Linked DNA regions of Homo sapiens: region 1 is linked to region 2. The links are contacts of gene promoters, found by promoter capture Hi-C in blood cells and fetal thymus (Javierre and others, 2016). All regions are on one chromosome and are shown on one strand. The core of a region is centred on a gene start or on the middle of the fragment in contact, and the rest is flanking DNA. Distances in the headings are between cores, read along the strand shown. Region 1 has its middle 44 kb from the start of TMEM215. Region 2 holds the start of TMEM215 (transmembrane protein 215).

What was found. Contacts are between HindIII fragments. The CHiCAGO score rates a contact against its expected background, and 5 or more counts as called.
Region 1: a fragment that was not itself captured here is called in contact with the fragment with the promoter of TMEM215 in region 2 in 1 of 17 cell types (M0 macrophages); the score reaches 5.3 in M0 macrophages.

Annotation. Positions count from the first base shown.
Region 1 is chr9:32,825,088-32,830,513 of GRCh38, reverse strand. No RefSeq gene overlaps it. Among named protein-coding and RNA genes, the nearest start is that of TMEM215, 44 kb to the right of the region's middle. The HindIII fragment of the contact is 1,512 bases long and covers 889-2,400 here.
Region 2 is chr9:32,780,544-32,786,190 of GRCh38, reverse strand. It overlaps TMEM215 (transmembrane protein 215), which reads right to left and starts at 2,651. Exons shown (of 2, transcript NM_212558.3): 1 at 2,386-2,651; 2 at 1-2,065. The coding sequence starts at 2,007. The coding sequence ends at 1,300. It overlaps LOC105376017 (a long non-coding RNA gene), which reads left to right and starts at 3,285. Exons shown (of 7, transcript XR_929559.2): 1 at 3,285-3,548. The HindIII fragment of the contact is 4,873 bases long and covers 837-5,647 here.

The DNA of each region.
Region 1 (5,426 bases), core at 395-2,894, 45 kb before region 2:
CTCATATGGGTGAGGTACCCCTCCCTGAACTTCCTGGCCACACTGCTCTTTCCTCATGGCTTCTACCTCTCAATGTTGTCATGGCTGCCTAATTGCCCACCCCTCCTTGATCACAGGCTCTGGGGGAAGGAAGGGCCAGTCTTCTTTATTTTTAAAATCCTCTTTGCATGGTAGATGTTTGACCCACAATAGAGTAGGTGTTTGAGATACATCTATGTATCTCTATATATGCATATCTACATGCATTAAGTGAACAGATGAATGAATTCCCAAAGACCTTTGGGAGTAAATCTCAGACAACCATCCAGAGGTGAATGGGAGCTACCTTATATGACTCCTGAGAGCAAAATGTGCACCCAGAGATAGATATCATGTAATAGCATGAAATTGCATGTAGCTACAAATCAGGGCTCTCCTACCTGCACCCTCCAGCTGCTGTGTAATCACTTTGGAGAGCTCTTTAAAGTGGCTACAATCCCTCAGCAATAACTTGGAAGCAGTTCATTACTCTCGGCATACTATTTGGGAACCTGATAATAGTAATAATAATAATAATAATAATGATAATAATAATAATAAAAGTAACTACTGTTTAATGAATGTTTGCTATGTGTCAAACCCTGTGCTTAGTGCTTTATGTACTTGATCTTGTTTAACCTTTGTAACAAAGGTTTCATTCATAGGTATTATGAAGTGGATTCATAAATACCTTGGAAAGACCAAGTAGGTATTATGAATACACTCTACAGAAGAGGACAGTAAGAATCAAATTTGTGGAAGTCTACCCATCTGGTAAGTTGGAGATGTATCTTGATGCCAGATCTCATCACTGAGCCAGTAATCTTAACTCTTCACTGTGGTGCTCTTCACAGCAGGGGGCTTGAAGCTTTAGTTTTTATTTCTCACCTTCACTTCTCCAAAGTGGTTCCTAAGTTTTCAGCTGGGCTTCACAATCGAACTTCCAGTTGACTGGGGAAAGAATCTTGCAATTGGCCAACCAAGATGTTGACAGGCTTGTTTCCAAGACAGAAATAACCAGGGGAGTTGTCAGGACTGGGTGTCAGCAACAGAGTGACATTTTGAATTGAGTCATTGATTTTAGTTTTTTGATAACATGATGGTGTGAATTGTTTTCAAAGAGAACTTTCCCACCCCCTGAGATAATATAGGTCAATAATTGTTGATCTTCAGGGTTTAAATGCTTCAAGGAAGGTGCCAGAACACCATCAAGCATATGACTCAAGTCTATCTCCCCAGTATCTCATAACAATAATACTCTAATGCTTGGAGGTTGTAGAGCACTTTTAATTCAGAAGCTAACTAATGTCCTGTCAGACAGAAATAAAGGCTTTTTCCTCTGCACTCTTAGGTTCAATGACTGGAATTGAACTGACAAAAGAGAGATTAACAGGAGAAAAAGGTTTATTTTATATGCATACGAGGGGCTCACAAAAATGAAATAAAAACCGAAAGAAGTAGTTAGACCCGACAGTTATTTTTGCCCTTTTAACAAAGGGCAATACATTTGCAGATAATTGACAAGACAAAGGAAAGGGGTTTGAGCTTCTAGTGGCAGTAAATTGTGGGACGGCAAATATGTGGAAGAAACTAATGGAAGATAAGGGTTATTTAAGTAACGTTTGTGATGCAGGTTTCTCTCAGTACTATTTCTGGGATGATAAGGGTCTAGGAAATTTATGCCCTTCTTTTAGGCAAATAGGAGGAGGGTAGAGAGCTTTTTTTCTTTTCTTTTCTTTTTTTTTTTTTTTTTTTGAGACAGAGTCTCACTGTCGCCCAGGTTGGAGTGCAGTGGCGCAATCTCGGCTCACTGCAGGCTCCGCCCCCAGGGGTTCACGCCATTCTCCTGTCTCAGCCTCCAGAGTGGCTGGGACTGCAGGCGCCCGCCACCTCGCGCGGCTAATTTTTTGTATTTTTAGTAGAGACGGGGTTTCACTGTGTTAGCCAGGATGGTCTCGATCTCCTGACCTCGTGATCCGCCCGCCTTGGCCTCCCAAAGTGCTGGGATTACAGGCGTGAGCCACCGCGCCTGGCCGAGAGCTTTTTTTCTGTGTCTGCTGATTCTCACCTGCCTTCAGCTCAAAATATCTTTATACCAAAGTGGCATACTTTGTTGTGTCATGTTCTGAACCCTTCAGTTCATAAACAAAAGTCTGTTGACTTGCATGGTTCTCTGAACACTGTGGTGGGTAAACTAGATGCTGCTGCTGCTGTTCCTGTGGTCACAACCCAGACCTCATCATTGCTTGAAACTGCTCCTTTAAAAAAATAAGTCCCACCCTGGGTCCACATCTTCCATCTCTTCTCTCTGTCTCACTAAATCTATTTGTTCTTCAGCTGCTCCAAGGCTCCGGGATCTCAACTGTTCCAGCCTAACAAGCTTTTCTTTCTCATGCAGCCTGGAATCCATGATCAATCTCTAGAGTGGTTTCCTGTTGACAATGCTCAACTCTGTGCCACCTCTTTTTTAACCTGCACTTGCTCTACAGCTTGTGTCTCTTGGTCAGTCTAACAGGCCTCAGATTCTCCTTGTGCACAGCAGAGATGCTTACATAACCTCACCTGATGACGAGGGCTCCACCTAAGATAAACTCCCTAAGGAGCTGGTTTCAGGGCTGAGGCTCCTGGTGCCTCTAGCTCTTCTTATTGACCAGATGTCTTCCTTTCCTGTTCCCTTTGTTGGCTGTTTCTGATCTCCCATTTCTCCTTTGAGCCACACCCACATGCCCCTCAATCATTGCAGGTGGGACCAAGTCTTTCCTTTCTTAGAGAAAACAGAAGTTCTTAGATGTAAACTTTCCTTTTCACTTTTAAACTTATCTATAAAAGTACTTCTTTCTCCATCTTTTGTTCTTGTTTTAGAAAAGAGTTTCCTCTTTCATAAAGCTGGTTTCTTTCCACCAACGAGTTCTTTTGATAGTTTAAACCAGTGAAGGTGAGGATGTCATTTTTCTGCTTGAAACCTCCCAGATACTTCCAATTACATCCTCACTAAAAAGCAAACTCCTTACTGCGGTCTTCAAGAAATGCTTGCCCTAAAATGGTAGTTCTCTTCCCAGATTGCACTGGGAAGCTCAAAAGCATAACCATGCCCAGGTGCCTCCACCAGGCACTCTGCTTTAATCGGTGCAAACCAAAAAGTGACTGAAGCAGATCTCAATTAATTAGAGGTTCATTTTGCCAAGGTTGAGAATGCACCCAGGAAGAAGAAACAAAAATCATGGTAGGACCTGTGACTTGCACCTTTTCCAAAGATGGTTTTGGAAACATTAATATGTAAAGGAGAAAAAGCAAGCAGGAAGGGAAGGAAAAAAAAGAGACAGCAAGCAATGAGGCCAGTGGTTACATTCTTGTGAGGCTCTGATTAGCGCTCAGGAAATCTACATTTTACATAAGCTAAAGTAAGCATGCGAAATTACAGCTATCTGGGAACAAAAGGAAGGAAGTTTTTGCATGACTCAGTTCCCAAGTTTAACTTTCCCTTTGGCATAGTGAATTTGGGGTCCTGAGATTCTATTTTTCTTTCACATTTGTATGAGGTGAGATCTGGTCAACAGTATTTTTTGTTTATTTAATTTTATTTATTTATTTTTATTTCAATAGTTTCAGGGTTACAAGTGGTTTTTGGTAACGTGGATGAATTGTATAGTGAAGTCTGAAATTTTAGTGCACCCATCATCTGAGTAGTGTCCATTGTACCCAATATGTAGTTTTTTATCCCTCATCCTCCCAGGAGTATTTTTAAGACATCCCGGCGGATTCTGCTTTCCTCTTGCAGCACCTTGTCCCCTTCTCCCCGTGACTCCCCACCTTGACCTCTCCCCTCCAGTCTCTATAAGGCTGTTTCCCAAACTTCAGGTTTCAGTTTTAGTGTCACCATTTATGGAAGATAATGTTTTATCCAGCACTTGGTTTGTTTCCTTCACCACACATACCATGGCCTATGTTTGTCTCTTCCCTTGTTTCTCACCTGTCGCCCCACTGCTAGCCTCGACGCTTCCTGAGGTCAGGGCCCCTTTGGGAATCAAGTTCACCATTGATTCCCCAGTGCCAAGCCGAGCCTGGCACACAGGCATTCACTGAGGATTTGGGGAGTTAATATTAGATAAAGAATTGCTTCTGATCTTGCCTTCTTCCTATGGGACCTTGTTCTATTGACTTTTTTTTCTTTCTCAGATCTTCAGACTTTCTCCACTGATCCCTTTCTCTCAGTCTAAAAACATACTCAGAACTTTCCCATCCAAAATCAAACATGCATAGAAAACCTCTTTTGGCACCTTCTCTTACTTAAGTTTAATCCTGTCTTGTTTTTCCTTCTACTTAGAGAAGCAATTTAGCCTCAGGATAAGAAAGTCAGACTGCCTGGATTCAAATCAGATTGTTGCTATTTACTAGATTTGAGATATTGGGTAAATTGTGTCACCTCCTTGTGCCTTGTTTTCCTCATCCATCAAGTGGAGATGGTAAGAGTACTTTACTCATGGGGTAGCTATAAGGATTAAGTGAGGTACCGTATGTAAAAGGTGCCTGGCTTCTATTAAGCACTCTGAAATATTAGTTGTTATTCTTAAAGTCATCTCCATTGATTGTTTCTGCTCCTCAATCCATTATAAATTATCCTCTGCCCTGAAGCATTACCTTGCCCTGAGGCCTTTTATTACTTCTCACTTCACTTGATCCTGCTGAGGCACGGGATGCTATTTACCATCTCTTCCATCTCTTCCCTCTTCTCCACTCACCATTCTCTTTTCTCCCTTCCTACCTTTTGGGCTGACTTTTCTCCAGGTCTCTTCTACTGTTTCCTTCTTCTCTGATGGTTTTAGGACTTTGTTTTTGGCCCTCTGTCTACTCAATCTTTCTATTCAAGTTGGGCAATTTCATCCACATTTATGGTTTGCAAACAGTTCTTTGCTGATGAAAACTCCCAGGTCATTATCTTTATCCTAGACCTCTCGCGAGCTATAGGGCAATGGTGACAAATGTCCCTTAGACCCCTCCATCTGCATATCTTACATGGACACCACTTTCAACATGTTTAAACCAGATGTGTTAACTTCAAAGCATAATCTTCTCCATCAATCTCTACCTCATTTAATTACACACCCCTTGTAAAATGTTTGCTGCCTGAACCACAGAGCAAATCCTCTGAATGCTAAACAAATGGCTGCATTCCCTTAGGGAGTAAAGAAACAAGAGTTAAAGGCTGATTAGTTACTCCTCAAAGTTAAGTATGTGGCATTGTACAGTGAAAAGAGAACAGGCTTTGAAATTAAACAGACACCTTTTTGGATCATAGCTTTGAGCTTTCCTGTCTGTGTGACCTAAAATGGGGATGACAGTGCTTACCCGTCAAGGTTGTTAGGATGATAAAAGGAAGTGCAAAGCATGTGGCACAAATTTGACACACA
Region 2 (5,647 bases), core at 1,402-3,901:
CCTATATATAATTCATATTTTTCTTCACCGGGGATCAAATGGCATTCTGCTTGATAGCCTTCTTATCTATTGCAGTTGAGCAAGTGAAATAGAAAGCACATTTTAGGATATCATTGTGATTTGTTGTTTTCCTCAGCAGCAAAAATGTATGAAATAAAGAGACTTTTATCATGTAATGTTCACTGATCAGGTGAGCTTAATAAAATCTAGGCTTCAGTTAAATTTAGTAGATGAGTTCTTGTTTCACTGGCATTTACAGTCTGTGAGAGGAGTTGAACAAATGTACAAATAATGACACTTCCAAAGGTTTAACCATTGCATTTCATACAAATTATGTGCAATGTTCAAGGCTAATGTGTAGACTTTATAGTTTTCAGATTTTAAAAGGTATGTAGGAATGGTAATTATCAGTACATGTCTGCCAATGTTAAAGACTTGGATATATATGTAAAATTCATTTTGTCTTGATGAAAACAAATTCCAATCTATGAAAGTATCATTTCAAATAATGTTGCACCTGGTAAGGAAATAATACATGAATGATAGTAAATGTTTAGAAAAAACCCATTTCAGATAAAGATGCAATAAATGGATTTAAACGAAGAGTTTAAGAAGTAACATAGCCATCTAAAAATGTTAACTTTTCACATAGCTGCTCACACTTATTTTACTTTATTAGAGACCATGATCTTGTCAGACAATAATGCCACAAGACTCAGTTACATAATCCAACTCTCTTTAACTACCCTTTTCCCAAAAACCATCCCATCTAAGGAGGGTTTAACTCTTGTATCTTGATTTTTTTTTCTTTCAGCAAATACCAAGTGTGATAAGCTTTTAACCAGGCAAAAATTACTTTATATAACGGATCATTAATTTTATTTTCAACTTATTCAAACATAAAGCAGCTCAGTTTCCCTGTGGTCAGCTCATGCATCATTTGATGCCTCACATCTGCAGCCCACTCTAGATTTATCTTGCTCTCAGCTGGTTCTGGATAGCACTTTTTGGGTTATTTTACAAAACATTTAACATTGTGTAAATTGTTAAGAAGCAACTGGAGTAGCTTCCTTTCCTACCCACTGCCTCTTCCAGTGTCCTTAACCCTCATCGCCCTTCCCTAAAATGTGTCCCCAACATGCCTATTTACATGACTCTCGGGTACCAGAGGTTATCACACCCATCACATACCAGGTCAATTTCTAACAGTGTGAAGGCTCTCCAAGCAGAGCAATTTGCTTCCACGGGGAGCTGGGCTTAGTCATATTCTATCAATCCAGCCACCTTTGTAGGCAGAGATTAGACGATGGTCTCGTGGTCCCACCTGCCTTGTATCTGATTGATATAACAACAGTATCTGTCATACGGGCTGTTCTGCTTGTAGGAGCAAACGATGATACTGTCCTGGGGCACAAAGAAGATGCTATCCTCAGGCTCAGGGCACTCAGATCTGTCCCTTGCTGAGCACTTGACGTCCAAGGCACTGTAGGTGAGGGAACTGCCCGAGGGGCAGTAGCCGTCCAGGTATCTGGACGTCTCCTCCTGATGCCCATTCTGGACGAGGCTCTGGCATTCTCCTTCCTCCGTGGGTGTGGGGCTGTTGATGGAGCTGGCCACGGACACCTCACCCTGGCTTTGTGGGGGAGGCTTCCCCCTGAGGCCCGCCTTCTTAGCCAGCTCATCTGAGCTCCCCTTGCCGGATTCTAGGTCTGAAGGGGTCCTCAGCAGCTCTACCACCTCCTTGTCTTTGGGTTTCCGGAAGCAGGGCAATTTGCGGACCCACAGCAGCTCGTTCTCTGGCCACTTGGTGCATCCCTCGGTTTTCCTGGCCAGGGCAATGGCTGCGATGCCTGGTAGGCAGATGGCTGGCCCGATGGCCAGGAGGGGGATGTTTCCCAAAGTCTCCCCTTTCATCCCAGAGACGGTGAACATGAAACCAAAGACGAGGAAGACACTGACCAGGGCCACCACCAGCCCAGTCCTCGGGTTAATGTCATCAGGCCGCATGTTTCACTCCATCCAGGTTGGGGGCTGCTTGCTGACCAGGGAGCAGCGTTCCTCTATTCTGTCAGAGATGAAACCACAGTGCGTTAAAAAAAAATCCAAGTCAAGCTCCCACCCATCAACTCTTGTCTTTCTCTTGCCCTTTGTCTCCGACTTGCTTCTTGACTTTCAGTCTTGATCTCTGTCTCTGTATCTCTCTTGCAATCTCTCTATCTCTCTCTCTGCGTTTCTCTTGCAATCTCTCCCTGTTTCTATTTCTACTCTTTCTCTCCGTCCCCTCTCCCTCCCTCCCTTTCTTGTGCCCTCCCTCTCTTCCTCTCACTATTGCAACCTCCGTCTCTCTCTCATATCAACACGCTCCGGCTGGGGTCAACGAGGTACCTGAGGTTTCCTGCCCTCTCCAGGAAGTAGGGAAAGAAGCCAGGCTGTCTCCTCAGAAGCCCCCACAGCAGCTGCCCCCTCGGCTCGCTCCCTTGGTTCTGGGAGGAAAGCCTGGTTTCCCCCACGGACTCTGCATCGGGGAGGTGGAACCTGGGAGAGCGGCTCTCCCAGCAGTGCCCGTCGGTCCCGGTGCTGTGCAAGCGGAGCCCGGCGCCAGCTCAGCGCGCAGAGCGCGGGGCGCGGGAGGAGGAGGGAGCACTGAGTCTGGGAAAGAGGGGACGCGGCGCGAGCCTGGCCTTGTTACATCACTGTCAGAGCAGGCTCAGAAACGCAGACAGACGCGCGGGGGCGCGAGGGGGTCAGCCCCAGAGGGAGGCCACCCGGCGGCAGGCGCTGCCCGGGGTCTCGTCGGGGCTGCTGGGAGCGGCCGGGGTTTGTGCCGCCGCCGTTCCGGAGGCTGAGCAGGGCGACCTGACCCGCTTCCGTGCCCGGGAAGGGTCTGGGGCGCGAGGCTGCCAGTGGCCGGAGTCGGAAACCAGGGTCGGTTTGCCCACGGGGCAGCCGTTGCAATATCCGAGCTCGGGCTCCCAGTCCGGGATCCGAGGAGTTAGGTGCCAGCTGGAGATGTCCCTCCGGGACCCGCACCCTTCTCCAGTTACAAATCCGGGTGACTGACGGCAGGCCCAGGGGCTCCCCGACCGCCCTTCTCTCAACCCCTCGACTCGGGGCGCGGGGGGGTGTGTGTCCCTCGGGGAGCCGGTGCCCGAGGACTGCTTTGGTCCCGGCTCTGGGCGGTGGCGGCGCGCGAAAGCGCTCTTGCAGCGGAGCGACTGCGCCGCGGGAGCGCACAGAACCAGCGCCCAGGCGGAGTGGGTTAGTGGTGAGGGGTGGGTGCCAGGCTAGTCCGGGCCTTGGGGGAGTCCCCGGAGTCCCCGTGGCTTTCCAGCTCCAGGCTCGGGAGAGGGTGACCTTGGAGCCGGGATTTCACTTCTACAGCGCTGTGGTGCCGGGGGGACAGGGAGAAGGGCTCCCTGGCCCCCAGTTCACGAGGAGAAGGGGCCTTGACCGGTCAGGACCACCACCCTACGACGCCGCTCAGCTCTGGGCGATTCTCTCCTCCCTTGCTGAAGCAGGCATTGAGAGCCTGCGTTCCTCCCGCTCTGGTAGGCAGGGGCAGATGGATTCCTCTGGCCCCGGGGGGCAAGACTGGCTTTGGCTGTGATTCTTCAACAGGGCTGCCCATTTAGGATAGAGGAGGGCGGTGGAGAACAGGTTGATGAGCGGTACATGCTTTCATGTCAAGACACTGATTTACTGGAAAGAATTTTCACATCCAGGCCTTCCCCAGTTAAACTAGCTGTATATTCCTGGGCAAGTGACTTAACCTCTCTGAGAATCAGTCGTCCTATCTGTAAAATGAGATTAATACCAAATATATGAGGAAACATTGTGAGGATTAAATAAACGTAAAGTTCCTAGCACAATGCTTGGTACATAGTCTGTGTACAAAAATTACACACACATGCACACACGTACACATGTATATGTATATATATTTGTCATCATAATTAGTGTCTTCATCATGTATGACAGGAGCCAAACAAATCATAAAGGCTGTGAGACTAAGGACTTTTTATCCACTAGGCAATGAAGAACGCTTGATGTATTTTAAGCAAAGATCAATACAAAAACATTCCAGTTTGACTGAAAGGGGCGGCAGGTGAGAGCATAGGTTGGAGCTGGTAAGTCTGGAAGCCGGGAGTCTTGTTCAGTAAGCTGAGAAGTTCAGTAAGCCGGGCAAGACATGATGTGGCCTTAACAATGTCGGGCTGGTAGAGGAGTTGGAAGGAAGCAGATCTGAGGGTATTTAAGGGTTGAGTGAAGTGTCTTGGAGCACAGTGAAGTGAGATGAAGGGAGGAGCCAAGGTCAACTCCCAACTTTCTCACTTTCAAAGGGGTGGATCAGGAAGCAGATCCTTCTCATTTTCCTCTCCATCATCTATTTTGTATCTTTTGTACTCATGACCATTAGACAGCTGCTGCACCTTTAGGCATAGAATCATTTAGGAGGGAAGAAAGGAGAAAATGCAAAGGGTAAAAGTGAGGTGCCAGTTCTTTGGCCACTTGTATGAGGACAATAATAATTTTCCTGGCAGCCCCCCCAAGTAGATAGGCATCTGCCTGTAATTGACCAGAGATGGATGAGCTTTGGGATACAAAGGTACCTGGGAAATTGTTGTTTATTTATTTACCAGATCCACTGATGGTCTGAAAAAAGGGTTTTGTTTAAAAGGAGCAGCATACTGCTCCTTTTAAATACTGGGGAAGCAGCTCGCTACGTGTGTTACAATTATTGAAAAGTTTTCCCTTCTTAAAACCGTTTCTTTTACTGACACCATTCTATCCTAGTTTTCTTCCTATCTCCCTGGTCACTTATTTGTAGGCTACTTTATAAACTCCTATTTTATTTATTTTTTATTTTAACAAACCCCTTAGATACTGATGTTCTGTGGGTTCTATTCTTGCTTCTCCCCTTTCTTGATTTCTCTTCTCTTTCTTCTCATTCTGTAATAGCCTCGAACAGCCTGAATAGGCTGATGACTCCCAAAACTCTCTCTTTAGCTTTGTCATTTTCCCTCAGCCCCAAATCTATAATATCCAACTGTCTGCTTGATATCTCTAATCTGGATGGTATGCAGACACCTCACACTTGCTAGGGACTTTAGACTTCAGGGATTTAGACTTTAGTGATTTTGATCTATGGGGATTTCAACATTAGGGATTGTGGGGTTTGGGATTGTGTCCTTTGGGATTATGTTCCAAACCCAACCTCATCATTCCTTCCATTTGCCAACTGAGAATATTTGCAATTGTTCTCTACTCCTTTCTCTCCCTAACAGCCTACGTCCAGTAAGTCACCCAAGTCATTATAGTTTTACCTCCTAAGTCCTTTGATTATCCCCTCTTATGGTGGTGACCCTAGGAAAATAACTTTACCTTCCTGTGTTTCAACTTCTTAATGAAACAAAGACTTTGAATGAGGTGCTAGGTAAGATTCATTTTAGCTCTAATGTTCCTTGGTTCTCTTGTAGTTACTTCTGCAGGGCTGAGCTGATGTCAGTGTTGTGGACGTGTTTTGACAATAGTGCTGGAAATAAAGTTGGGTCCTAAAGAAGCAAGATTGCTGAGTGGAGACCTCCTGTCACTTGTACAAACATCCAGTTCTTTTCTGATTTTTAAGCCATGCAGTTTATCTACTTAG